Linked DNA regions of Homo sapiens: regions 2 and 3 are each linked to region 1. Evidence: promoter capture Hi-C in human tissues and cell types (Jung and others, 2019). All regions are on one chromosome and are shown on one strand. The core of a region is centred on a gene start or on the middle of the fragment in contact, and the rest is flanking DNA. Distances in the headings are between cores, read along the strand shown. Region 1 holds the start of DNM1L (dynamin 1 like). Region 2 overlaps DENND5B (DENN domain containing 5B). Region 3 overlaps DENND5B (DENN domain containing 5B).

The links. Contacts are between HindIII fragments. The study calls those that stand out against the background at their distance.
Region 2: a contact is called between a fragment that was not itself captured here and the fragment with the promoter of DNM1L in region 1, in 1 of the 25 tissues and cell types used here (lymphoblastoid cells).
Region 3: a contact is called between a fragment that was not itself captured here and the fragment with the promoter of DNM1L in region 1, in 1 of the 25 tissues and cell types used here (aorta).

Annotation. Positions count from the first base shown.
Region 1 is chr12:32,676,843-32,681,288 of GRCh38, reverse strand. It overlaps DNM1L (dynamin 1 like), which reads right to left and starts at 1,988. Exons shown (of 20, transcript NM_012062.5): 1 at 1,824-1,988. The coding sequence starts at 1,925. RefSeq lists a silencer at 1,431-1,840. The HindIII fragment of the contact is 15,512 bases long and covers 1-3,381 here.
Region 2 is chr12:31,400,365-31,404,810 of GRCh38, reverse strand. It overlaps DENND5B (DENN domain containing 5B), which reads left to right. Exons shown (of 21, transcript NM_144973.4): 15 at 2,168-2,313. Among named protein-coding and RNA genes, the nearest start is that of LINC02387, 33 kb to the right of the region's middle. The HindIII fragment of the contact is 8,206 bases long and covers 1-4,446 here.
Region 3 is chr12:31,522,686-31,527,131 of GRCh38, reverse strand. The region is part of intron 1 of DENND5B (DENN domain containing 5B); the gene reads left to right. Among named protein-coding and RNA genes, the nearest start is that of DENND5B-AS1, 65 kb to the left of the region's middle. The HindIII fragment of the contact is 5,763 bases long and covers 1-4,446 here.

The DNA.
Region 1 (4,446 bases), core at 739-3,238:
TACTTGAGTAAAAGACTGATTATCAGCTAATAAGAACTTAGATGGAAATAACCCTCATTAAATCAAGTAGAAAAACTGACCTCTTGAGAAATTTCAAACACCAACATGCAAATATAGCATATAACTGTCAGTACTAGGATGGTTTTTGCACATGTTAATGGCTTTCAGAAGGATGGGATCTTTACTTTTCTCTCCTGCCACTCTGTATTTTGCCAACAGGTTTACTGACCAAAATAAACTCTATTTTGTGTAAAAAGAAAAAAACAACTTATTGATTTTAAACTATTTATGCTGACACACTATATCCCTAATTCTTTTACTTCCTCATGCTTAAAAAGCACTGAGACTCTCTTTTAAAAGTATGTGGAAAGTTTCTAGTGTGCAGCTAGAAGACACTTCTGAATCACTTACTATCAAAGACTTAATTTATATTATCTCTAACTTTTTACAAAAACAGGTTAGTTTTGATGATAAAAGTCCCAGTGTTTTAAAACATTGTGGTTAGAGTGAGCAATATTTACTCAAAATATTTACAGAGCACTTACTATATGTCCCAGACTGAACAAAATTATGTTCAATAAAAAATAATCCTCGTAATTTGTTTGATGCTTCTGAGTCTCCAAACATTACAAATATTGTTACAAATACTAGAATACGTAGGCAAGATTGAGCAGAATCTTTCCCAATCCTATCGCAGACCAAGGAAATGTGTTTCTAAAACAATTTCTATTGCTTCAACTATTTAAAAGCCAAAAAAACAAACAAACAAACAAACGAGTACAGGGTGTCTATAGTTTCCAGTGTTTGGATAGCCACTAATACTTTGAACAGTAAGTTCCTTCTGATAGCACTTATACCCTATACTATGTACCTCCTGGAAAATGATGGGGAAACCGCTCCTTCTCAATAGAAAAGATACTATTAAGAAATGAAAGCACTTAATATCAATATACTAATTTCTAAAATCCGTTTCTCTGAACTCTAATCGAAGTAGCAGAGAAAAGGAAAATTATACTTCTCCTCTGTCACTCTAGAAATAACAGTTATTTTGCCAACATTTCTGCATTCAAAAAAAAATGAGTTAGCTATGAGAAGACCAGAGAAACTGATGCCCAATTTAGGTCACGATCACAAAACTGTGGAAGACAAAAAGCACAGCCTACGCAGAAAAATCGGATATTCCTTCCCAACACCCGCAGAACTCTAGATACACGTTTTGTTTTTCTTTTTTTAAAATGCTGCTTCGGCGTTCTCGAAACCTGGTGGAATTATACTGCAGGAAAACACTGGCGCTCACGCACCGTAGCGTCTCTCAGCCTCAACAGAGCGATTCCAAAACTAACTCCGCAGTCCCTGGGCAAGGCAAGGAGGGAAATAAAACACCCGTCTCACGAAAGCCAACAGTGATGGGAACAGCCAGCCCACCGAGCCCAGCGAGACCCGAGTGCCCCGCGCGTCCCCCAGGTGCCCTTGGAGGCAGCGGCACGCGGACGAGGCCGCGCCCGGTCCCAGCGGACTCCAGTTCCGCCCGCCGGCCCCATCCTTCCCTCTCCTGTCCCCGGGACCCGCCGGGCTAGCCAGGCCCGCCGCGCCGGCTCCGCCCCTGGCCGGGCCCCGGATTCTCCGCCTTGATGCAACGCTGCCCCGGGAGGGCGGGTGCGGCAGAGCCCGGAGAGCCCTGGGGCCCCCAGCAAGGCCCTCCTCCCACAGGCCCCAAAGGCTGGCGCGGGAGTGGGCGCTGGCGCGGGAGTGGGCACTGCCGCAGCACCGACCAGGCCTGCGGCCGGGGTCTGGCCCGAGCGAACGCCGCCTGCTGCTCTCACCTGCGTTCCCACTACGACGATTTGAGGCAGCTGGATGATGTCGGCGCCCACCGTGTTGAAGACGTCCTGGAGCTTGTTTATGACAGGAATTAGCGCCTCCATGACTCTGAAAACACGGGGCCCCAGTGCCCGCCGGCCACGGCAATGAATGGGGCCGGGGCCCACAGTTCGCCTCCTTCCTCCTCTCCTCCGCCCTCTCCTCGGAAGCCGGCACCCATTGGACCGGGCCCGCCGGCTACCTGCCCCCTCCCGGCAGGCCATGCGCTGCGAGGGAGGTGGAGAGGAGCAAGGCCTGCTGGGAGTTGTAGTTCTGGAGCGGAGGAACGCTACTCCCCACAGCTTCCAGGAGGCTGCGCGGCACCGGTGGGCCCTAGCCTGGGACTGGGATGCTGCGCAGGCTCTAGTCAAAGGCTAGGAGCAGGCCGGGAGCGCAGGAGGAAGGCCGTAAATTTATGCCTGTCCTCAAGGCACGATGGATGTGACAGTGCTGGGTGTGAATATGTGTTAAAGGCGCAATGGTGTGTCTCTTAATTATCCAGTGTCACTTCCTTTTATTTATTTTTTATTTATTTATTTTTTTTTTTTTTTTGAGACGGAGTCTCACTCTGTCGCCCAGGCTGGAGTGCAGTGGCGCGATCTCGGCCCACTGCAAATTCCGCCTCCCGGGTTCACGCCATTCTCCTGCCTCAGCCTTCGGAGTAGCTGGGACTACAGGCACCCACCACTACGCCCGGCTAATTTTTTGTATTTTTAGTAGAGACGGGGTTTCACTGTGTTTTCCAGGATGGTCTCGATCTCCGGACCTAGTGATCCACCCGCCTCGGCCTCCCAAAGTGTTGGGATTACAGGCGTGAGCAGTGTGACTTCCTTATGAAGACACTTTCTCTAGAAGGACGGGTTGGAAAGGCTTAAAGAAAAGCTTATGGCCGCAAACAACCAAACTGGGTGCAAAAAAATCTGCACGCTGATACGAGAATGTGTGGGGTGTTATTTTGCAAAAATACAAAAACCAGCCCAGGTTAGAATACGCGGGTTCTCCAGGGGTTTTGTAAACAAACAAACAAACAAACAAAATGTGTGTTCAGGACCGAGCGCGGTGTAATCCCAGCACTTTAGGAAGCAGAAGCAGGAGGATCGCTTGAGCTGGGAGTTCGAGACCAGCCTGGTCAACATAGTGAGACCTCATCTCTACCAAATAAATAAATAAATAAATAAAAAAGCAGGGGTCGGAGCAGCGGGGGGCGGTGTTCATGAAAAAAATCTTAGAGTATTGGAGTTTTACAGGGGAAGAGCTGGGCATTTATTATCAATATTATGTATAAACCTTTATTTGCTGTAGCCTGATTCCTGGCAAAGTAGACATCTGATAACTGCCTTACTCACTCTTTGCTCATACCGTTCTTTTTTTTTTTTGAGACAGAGTCTGACTCTGTCGCCCAGGCTGGAATGCAGTGGCGCAATCTCGGCTCACTGCAGCCTCCTCCTCCCAGGCTGAAGTGATTCTCCTGCCTCAGCCCCCCAAGTAGCTGTTATTACAGGCACCCGCCACCACCCTGGGAAAATTTTTGTATTTTTAGTAGAGACGGGTGGGGGGCGGGGTTTCACCATGTTAGCCAGGCTGGTCTCGAACTCCTGACCTCAAGTGATCCGCCCATCTTGGCCTCCCACAGTCCTGGGATTACAGGCCTGAGCCACCATGCCCGGCCCATACTGTTATATTTCTAAATGTTGTTTTTCTTTTTAGACAGATAGTATCCCTCCTCTACTCCAAACCTCCAAAGGTAAAAGTAAACCTCAAAGTAAAAAGGTGACATTTGAGTAAAGAATTAAAGCAGGTGAGGAGAGGCCAGGCACCGTGGCTCACGCCTGTAATTCCAGCACTTTGGGAGGCCAAGGCAGGCGGATCACTTGAGGTCAGGAGTTCAAGACCAGCCTGACCAACATGGAGAAACCCCGTCTCTACTAAAAATACAAAAATTAACCGGGCGTGGTGGTGCATTCCTGTAATCCCAGCTACTCAGGAGGCTGAGGCAGGAGACGGGCAGATCACTTGAGGTCAGGAGTTCAAGGCCAGCCTGGGCAACACGGCAAAACCCAGTCTCTACAAAAAATACAAAAAAATTAGCTTGCCTGTCGTGGTGGTGCATACCTGTGGCCCCAACTACTTGGGAGGCTGCAGTAGGAGGATCACCTAAGCTTGGGAGGTGGGGACTGCAGTGAACTGTGATCGTGCCACCGCACTCCAGCCTAAGTGACAGAGTGAGGCCCTGTGTCAAAAAAAAAAAAAGAGAAAAGAGAAAAGAAAACATAATAAGAGCACTTTTTCCAGTCTGAGCAAGAGGATAGAGATTCGAGAAAGACTTCCTAGAAGTTACTAAATTTAATCTCCATGAGGACAAGAACCACCAGCAGTAGTGGAAGTTGTGCACTACGCAACTCCAGTGGGTGCCATTCACCTGCTTAGCTGTACACAATGGCTGCGGGGAACATGCTTGATTTGTTCAGCAGGACAAATGGCAGGTGCTTAATAAATATCTGTGAACAAATGGATGAAGTAAGCCAAGACCTAAAGATCCATTAGTGGTGTTTTGGCATCTTGACAGGTTTTGTGAACATCTCCTCT
Region 2 (4,446 bases), core at 558-3,057, 1.3 Mb after region 1:
TCCAGCCTGGGCCACAAGAGCAAAACTCTGTCTCAAAAAAAAAAAAAAAAAGCTAGAGGTCGGACGCGGTGGCTTATGCCTGGAATCCCAACACTTTGGGAGGTTGAGGCCGGTGGATCACCTGAGTTCAGGAGTTCGAGACCAGCCTGGCCAATATGTCAAAACCCCTTCTCTACTAAAAGTACAAAAATTAGCTGGGCGAGGTGGCAGACGCCTGTAATCCCAGCTACTTGGGAGGCCGAGGCTGGAGAATCACTTGAATCCAGGAGGCAGAGGTTGCAGTGAGCCAAGAATGTGCCACTACACTCCAGCCTGAGCGACAAGAGTGAAACTCTAAATAAATAAAGTTAGCCAGGTGTGGTAGCGTGCACCTGTAGTCCCAACTGCTGGGGAGGCTGAGATGGGAGGATTGCTTGAGCCCCAGAGATCAGGGCTGCAGTGAACACTGATTGGGCTGCTGCACTTCAGACTGGGCGACAGAGCTACATCCTGTCTCTAGAAAACCAACAAACAAAAAACCAGAAATGTATGGCTGTGATGGACAAAAATGCTTATGTGCTTAAACCATCTGCCCCCTTTTTGTTTTGAGATAGGGTCTCGCTGTGTTGCCCAGGCTGGAGTGCAGTGGTGGGATCAGAGTTCACTGCATCCTTGACCTCCCTGGCTCAAGGGATCCCCCCTCCTCATCCTCCTGAGTAGCTGGGACTACAAGTGTGTACCACCAGACCTGGCTAATTATGTTTTTTATTTTGTATAGAGACAAGGTCTCACTTTGTTGCCCAGGCTGGTCATGAACTCCTGAGCGCAAGTGATCTGCCCACCTCAGCCTTCCAAGGTGCTAGGTAGGATTACAGACATGAGCCCCCGTGCCTGGCCCTGTCTGCACTTTTTTTTTTTTTTTTTTTTTTTTTTTGGAGATGGAGTTTCACTCCTGTTGCCCAGGCTGGAGTGCAATGGCACAATCTCGGCTCGCTGCAACCTCTGCCTCCCGGGTTCAAGCGATTCTCCTGCCTCAGCCTCCTGAGTAGCTGGGATTACAGGTGTGTGCCACCACACCTGGCTAATTTTTGTATTTTTAGTAGAGACGGGGTTTCACCGTGTTGGTCAGCCTGGTCTCAAGCTCCTGACCTTGTGATCCACCCACCTCGGCCTCCCAAAGTGCTAGGATTACAGGCCACCACATCCAGCCGTTTTCTTTTTTCTTTCTTTTTTTTTTCTGAGGCAGAGTCTCACTCTGTTGCCCAGGCTGGAATGCAGTGGTGCAATCTCAGCTCACTGCAACCTCTGCCTCCCGGGTTCAAGTGATTCTCCTGCCTGAGCTTCCCAAGTAGCTGGGATTTCAGGCGCCTGCCACCACACCCGGCTAATTTTTGTACTGTTAGTAGAGACGGGGTTTTGCCATGTTGGCAAAAAAAAAAAAGAAAAAAAAAGAAGGGAGGACATGCATAACATCTAACCTCTCGTGCTTCCACATTTGAGCAAAGGACAGTGATAGGGCAGTGACATCTAGTGGTCTGTCTGTGGAAGAGCCTCCCTGGGCTCCTCTTGCGTGTGAGTCACCTTAATAGCTTTCAAAGTTGTGGTTTATAGACTTCACGATATGTCCAGAGTGGAGGTTCCATTGTTTATTATTTGTGGTTTTTGCATATTGTTCTGTAAACTTGGGACAGGAAAGTTCTGAAATGCAGTGCTTTAAAGCATTGCCCAAGAAACTCAATACTGTCCAAGAAGTCATCCACCCCTCTTTTTATATAAAACCATATCAGTAATCATGTTCATTTCTATTCAATTTTGTTACAAAATTAATTTTTAAGAAAATTTAAGCAATGAAAACACAATATACACAGTCAGTGTTCACATCTTTAGGTATTCTCGTGCTAATGCTTGAGATTGTTCATACGTTTAATGTTGATATATGCATCATACATACATGATGATATACATGCTGTGAAAACCACTGCTACGAGTATTGAGACTTCTGGTTTGCAAACTAGATCTCATCTTTCTAGACTGAAAGGTTATGATCTCAACTTTTCGTATAAGTACATCTTGATAGCTCATAAAAAGCAAATTATCAATGAAAACCAACAAGAGTTCTTAATATATGTTTTGTTATAAGGAGAATTTTATTCCCGCTTTTTAATTAATTTCTGCATTTTTCTTTCAGTGATTCCGTATAGGTCAGTGATCATCCCAATCAAAAAGCTGAGCAATGCAATAATCACATCAAACCCTTGGATCTGTGTATCAGGAGAGCTGGGAGACACAGGAGTAATGCAGATTCCCAAAAACCTCCTCGAAATGACCTTTGAGGTAGGTTCAGCTAATACCTTTCCTAGAAGAATGTATCACGTGTAGTTTTACAGATGATTCTGTCTGGCTTTTTCATTTTTCCTTGAATCAAATAAAATAGAGGAACACTCAAAGCGTGCAGGATCATTTTTGTGATTATATGTCTAAAGTTGTCTTAAGCAGCTTATATACTAATTTGTTTTGCATTTTCATTGTTAAGCTCTATTTTTCACTTGTAATGATGTGCTTTGGGGCTTTCTAGGTCTTCTCCTACTATTTTCAGGGTCTAGCACAGATTCTAGCAAGCAGGAAATATTCAAATAAATGTTTTCCCCGCGGTGGTTCTCCTCCCTACTGTAAAATGTTTTCTGCCCAAACCTGGTCATCCTTTGGCAAAAGGACAGGAGAGCTGATATTCATGCTTATGGATTTTTTTTTTTTTTTTTTTGAGACGGAATCTTGCTCTTTCGCCCAGGCTGTGCAGTGGTGTGATCTTCACTCGTTGCAACCTCCACCTCCTGGGTTCAAGCATCTGCTTACTGGTTTTAGACCACATGGTGACATTTATAGAATGATTCTATAAAAATGCCTTTTGGCCAGGCGCAGTGACTCATGCCTATAATCTCAACACTTTGGGAGACCAAGGTGAGCAGATTGCTTGAGCCCAGGAGTTTGAGACGACCAGCCTGGGCAACATGGTGAGACTCCATCTCTACAAAAAATACAAAAATTAGCTGGGCATGGTGGCATGCACCTGTAGTCTGGGTACTTGCAAGGCTGAGGTCACTTGAGCCCAGGAGACAGAGGTTGCAGTGAGCCAGGATTGTGCCACTGCACTCCAGCCTGGGTGACAGAGTGAGACTGTGTCTCAAAAAACAAAACAAAACAAACAGCCACCTTTTAATATTGTAGTCAATTTTCAGTCTTACTTGGTGAAATAGTTCCATGGGGTTAAGCCTGTACACAGGTTGATCTTGGTGGAGGAAGAGGACAAATAATTGTTGTGTTTGAGGAAGGAAATGGTACGAACTGAATGTCCCATTCTCATGTTCCTTGGGGTCTCGAAATAGCAGTTTCCACTTAGAGTCATGATGCCCTCCCGCCCCCAGGAGCCCAGTTTGGCCTTATCCATGCAGTAGACTCAAAGCCACCTGTATATAAAATATTAAAACCCTTGGCTTTTCTTCATCTAACAATAATGAAAGTACATTAAAACCCCCATCATTGCCATTTCTAAGCTGTCTCTCTCATGTCTACCTACTTCTTTCCATCTCTGCTGCACAACTAATTCAAGATGCCATCATCCCTAAGTTAGAGCATGGTGATGCCTTCTCACTGAGATACAAAGAATAAAGTGCTTTAAGAACTCGTAGCTCTGGCCGGGCCAGTGGCTCACGCCTGTAATCCCAGCACTTTGGGAGGCCGAGGCAGGCGGATCACCTGAGGTCGGGAGTCTGAGGCCAGCCTGACCAAAATGAAGAAACCCCCTCTCTACTAAAAACACAAAAATTAGCCGGGCATGGTGGCACATGCCTGTAATCCCAGCTTCTCGGGAGGCTGAGGCAGGAGAATCGCTTGAATCCGGGAGGCGGAGGTTGTGGTGAGCGGAGATTGCACCATTGCACTCCAGCCTGGGCAACGAGAGCGAAACTCTGTCTAAAAAAAAAACAAAAAAAAAAAACTCGTAGCTCTAATGGGTACAAAAAAATAGAGTGAATAAGACCTAGTATTTGCTAGCACAGCAGGGTGACTATAGTCAACAATAATTTAACTGTACATTTTAAAATAACTAAAAGTATAATTGGATTGTCACACAAATGATAAATGTTTGAGGTGACAGACACCCCATTTACCCTGATACAGTTATTAGGCATTGCATGCCTATATCAAAATATCTCAATTAATCCATAAATATACACATCTACTAGGTACCCATAAAAATTAAAAATTAAAATTAACCAAAAAAAAGAACTTACAATTCTGATGTTGTCATCCAGCACATTGTTGGGGTCAGTGATCTTTTCATTATCAGATTTTAGAAGTCAGAATTTAATTAGTATTCATTTTTGCTATTCCTATTATCATTGCTTTATTTTGTACTTGTCCACAAAGGACCAGTGAAGATAACTTATTGATAACTATGCCTTTTAAAAA
Region 3 (4,446 bases), core at 996-3,495, 1.2 Mb after region 1:
ATGCTCTTTACTGTCATGTTTTTCCATATCACCCTCTCTCATACCGTGTAACTTATTTATTATGTTTATTGTTTATTGCCTGTTTTCCCTACTGAACTATAAGCACCATGGTGGCAGGAATCTTTGTTTTGTTCCCAGAGTCATCCCAGAATGTTATGTTCATAGCAGGCACAAAATAGTTTGTTGAATGGATGAATATGAAAATACTTTAGATTAATATATCCTTCTTTGCCTTAATTCACAGTAGAGTCACAACAGTATTTTGAAATAACTTTGGATTTGCGGAAGAGTTCCAAAGACAGTGTAGAATTCCTGTTTACCCTTCACCCAGTTTCTCCAAATGTTAACGTTTCACATAACCATGGTACATTCATCAAAACTAAGAAATTAACATTGGAATAATACTGTTAACTAAACTCCAGGCTTCATTTGGATTTCGTGAATTTTTCCACTAATACCCTTTTTCTGTTCCACTGTCCAATCCAGGATACCACATTGCATTTAGTTATGTCTCTTTAGTCTCCCCTAATCTCTGCAGAGACTACTTCTTAAAGGATTCTTGTGGATTATTTGCTCAAGTGAATATTTCTTTTATTTATTTATGCCTCAGCATTCACATCGTGAATATTTCTAAAGGAAGGAAAGGTTGTAAAACTTAGGAGCACTAGAATATATAGCTACAGGGCATTGTTGAACTTTAGACAAGATCATAGGATTTGACATGTTTTCTGGGTCAAATGCAGAGTTTATCTAGCGTCTTCTCTTCTGCCATCAGAGCTTCCCAATCCTTTCATGTTGTCATTTGAAGAGGTGAATCCTAGCCTAACCATTAACTGTTTGTGACATTTTAATGGGTAAATGTAAATATTTCTGTAGTAAAGACGTGTTAGGTACCTACCCTGTGTAATGAACTGTATCGAATTCCTCCTTGTGAAGGGGGATGTAAAGAAATTTGAGTAAGTTTTTTACTAGCCTGGGTTCTAATATAGGTAATATATAACTAACAGACTGTAATAACAACTGGTTTGACAGCACAGAGGAAATTATTAATGTTAACTGGGTGAGGTGAGAAATAGGGAGAAGATCACATTTAAACTTGCCCTTAAAGTATTAATAGAATTTTTTAAAAAATTTATTCGAGACAGGGTTTCACTTCCACTGCTCAGATTGGAGTGCAATGGTGCAATCTCAGCTCACTGCAGCCTCTGCCTCCTGGGCTTAAGCAATTCTCCCACCTCAGCCTCTGGAGTAGCTGGGACCACAGGCACTTGCTACCACACCTGGCCAATTTTTATATTTTTCTGTAGAGAAGGGGTTTCTCCATGCTGCCCAGGCTGGTCATGAGCTCCTCAGCTCAAGCCAATCCACCCATCTCAGCCTCCCAAAGTGCTGGGATTATAGTGTGAGCCACCGTGCCTGACCTCATAGAATTTTTTTAAATGGCTTTATTGAGATATTATTAACGTATACATATCAAATGCACCATTTAAAGCAAACAATTCAATTGCTATGCATATATTCACAGAGTTGTGCAACCATTCCACAATAAATGTTAGAACATCTTCATCAGCCACAAAAGAAACCCCATACCTGTGTTCACTCCCCATTCTCCCCTTCACTCAGCTCCTGGCAACACATATTCTTTATATGTCTGTAAATTTGCCTATTCTGGTATTTCATATAAATAGAATTGTACAGTATGTGTCTGACATCTTTCACTTTGCATATTTTCAAGATTCATCCACATTGTAGCACTCATCAGTACTACATTCCTATTTATGGCCAGATATTCTATTTTATAGAAGTATATTTTAGTTTTTCATTCATCAGTTGATGGAAATTTAGGTTGTTTCTACTTTTGGGCTATTATGAATAATGCTGCTATGAACATTCAGATTTTTGCATGGACAGACATGTTTTTATTAATGTTGGGTATATACTATGTTTAACCACTTGAAGAATTAGCAGACTTTTTCAAAGCAGTTATTATTTTACATTTCCACCAGCAATGGATGAGGGTTCCAATTTCTTTACATCTAAGCCAACATGTGTTAATGTCTGTCTTTTCTATTTTGGTCATGCAAGTGGGTGTGAAGTGGTATCTCATTGTGGTTTCGATTTGTATTTCCCTAATGACTAATGATGTTGCATCTTTTCATGTGCCTATTGGTCATTTGTGTATGTTCTCATGAGGTGTATCATTTTAGTAGATGAAGAAAGGGGAATGGAAGGGAGCAAGAGAACAGGGACAAAGGCCTGAGAAATGGTGAGAGAATCAGTAAAAGAGAGTAGGGCTCTCAGATGATAGGAGTTAAGAGAGGACTATAGAAAACTGGGTCTCTAAGCTGATGTGTCAAGTCACACTGTCCTCTGCTTATCCTAAGCTTACCTTGCTCAAATTTCTTTTTTTTTCTTTTTCTTTGTTTTTGGTTTTTATTTTTTCTTAAATTTCAAGGATATTCCTTCTTTTGTAAATGTCACAGAGTATCATGGCTCTGTCGCCGAGGCTGGAGTGCAATGGTGCAGTCTCAGGTCACTGCAACCCCTGCCTTCCAGGTTCAAGCGATTCTCCTCCCTCAGCCTCCCAAGTAGCTGGGATTACAGGCACATGCCATCATGCCCGGCTAATTTTTGTATTTTTGGTAGAGATGGGGTTTCACCATGTTGGCCAGGCTGGTCTGGAACTCCTGACCTCAGGTGATTTGCCCACCTCAGCCTCCCAAAGTGCTGGGATTACAGGTGTGAGCCACCGTGCCCGTCCCAACCAGGCTTCTTAAATGAATTCTAAGATAGAAACAACAGGAGCTTCCAGGACTCTCTTAAGGGCTGAACCTAGGACTGTCACAGTGACATTTCTGCCATATTCTGCTGGTCACAAGGCAAGCCCAAATTCAAAAGGAGAGAAATAGACCTCTTAGAGTTTCCTAATAAAAGGTAATTTCATTAAAAATACAATTCATAAATTAGCCCTATGTTTACTACTGTCTTTTCAGCTCTTTTTTTATTCCATGCATTAATTGATTCGTCACCACTTGGATTGTGCCACCAATGTTTCTATGACATGATCTAAAAAAAAAAAAAAAAAAAAAAGGGCTCAGTAGTTTTCACTTAAAAGACAAAGAGGCCCACTGAGCTATTACAGATGTTAATTAGGATTCATTTACTTTAATATGGTAGAAAGAATGCTATGATACCACTTTAGTGATGAACAAAATAAGCTTAATCACATCCTAGGAGCTAAGTATTCTGACATTATAATCTCTTCTCTCAGAGTCCCATCACAGCAGTCTTAGGATTCAAGATCTATTCTTGGGAAACATTATAGAACCAGTGTGTCATGTACATACAAATGAGGGAAAATATAATGGCTTTGGTAATCCTGTAGTTATCTTTCTTGTCATATACTCTTTTTTTCATTTTTAAAAATTGGGGCAAAATTTATATAACATAAAGTTAACCATTCTGAAGTGTACAATTTAATGGCATTTAATACATTCACAGTGTTGTACGACTTTTTTTTTTTTGAGGAAAAGCATATTTTTAGGATAATGTCAAAACAGATTAATAAGATGCTAATAAGATGGCCAGACATTCACTCAGAAGTGTTTTTTGTTTTGTTTTGGTGAAATGGTATGAGAGATATGTTGCCTTACACTTAGGCCACTGCATTCCCGCTTAAGTGCCAGGATTGTGTCAGCAACAGGATGGCCTAAACAATCTCAGTCTTGTCTCCTGCCAGCCCCCTAAATCTTCCAGAATTGCAAGAATAGGCCAGGTGTGGTGGCTCACACCTGTAATCCCAACACTTTGGAAGGCCAAGGCAGGCGGATCACTTGAGGCCAGGAGTTTGAGACCAGCCTGGCCAACATGGCAAACCCCCATCTCTACTAAAAATACAAAAATTAGCCAGGCAGGTGTGGTGGTGCATGCCGGTAATCTCAGTTTCTTGGGAGGTTCGGGTGGGATGATCGCTTGAACCTGGGAGGCGGAGGCTGCAGTGAGCCGAGATCACGCCACTGCACTCCAGCCTGGGCGACAGAATGAGGCTTTTTCTTTAAAAAAAAAAAAAAAGGAAAAAAAAAGGCACATTTATCTCACCTTCCCTCCTATTCTGGGAATGCTAACATCCTCAGGGAATCTCCCATATTGGTCCCCTATAACCCAAGACTTGGGAGTTTCACAGCCCCACTCTAGGTCTGAAAACAACACAAAAGTTGTTCTAAGGGATGAAGCCACCCTCAATAAAACTGGAAGTCAAAGCCTGCATATAAGCCCCACTCCCTCCTGCCTAAAAAAGGAAAGGTATTTAGATGTTTTTGTCATGGATACTTTACTGGGATCAGGTAAGAACTGAACAAATGCAGTAAGTTATTGGAGAGTTAAAGGTTAAAAAAGGCCGTGTGCAGTCGCTCACCTGTAGTCCCAGGGTGAGGCCAGGGCAGGTGT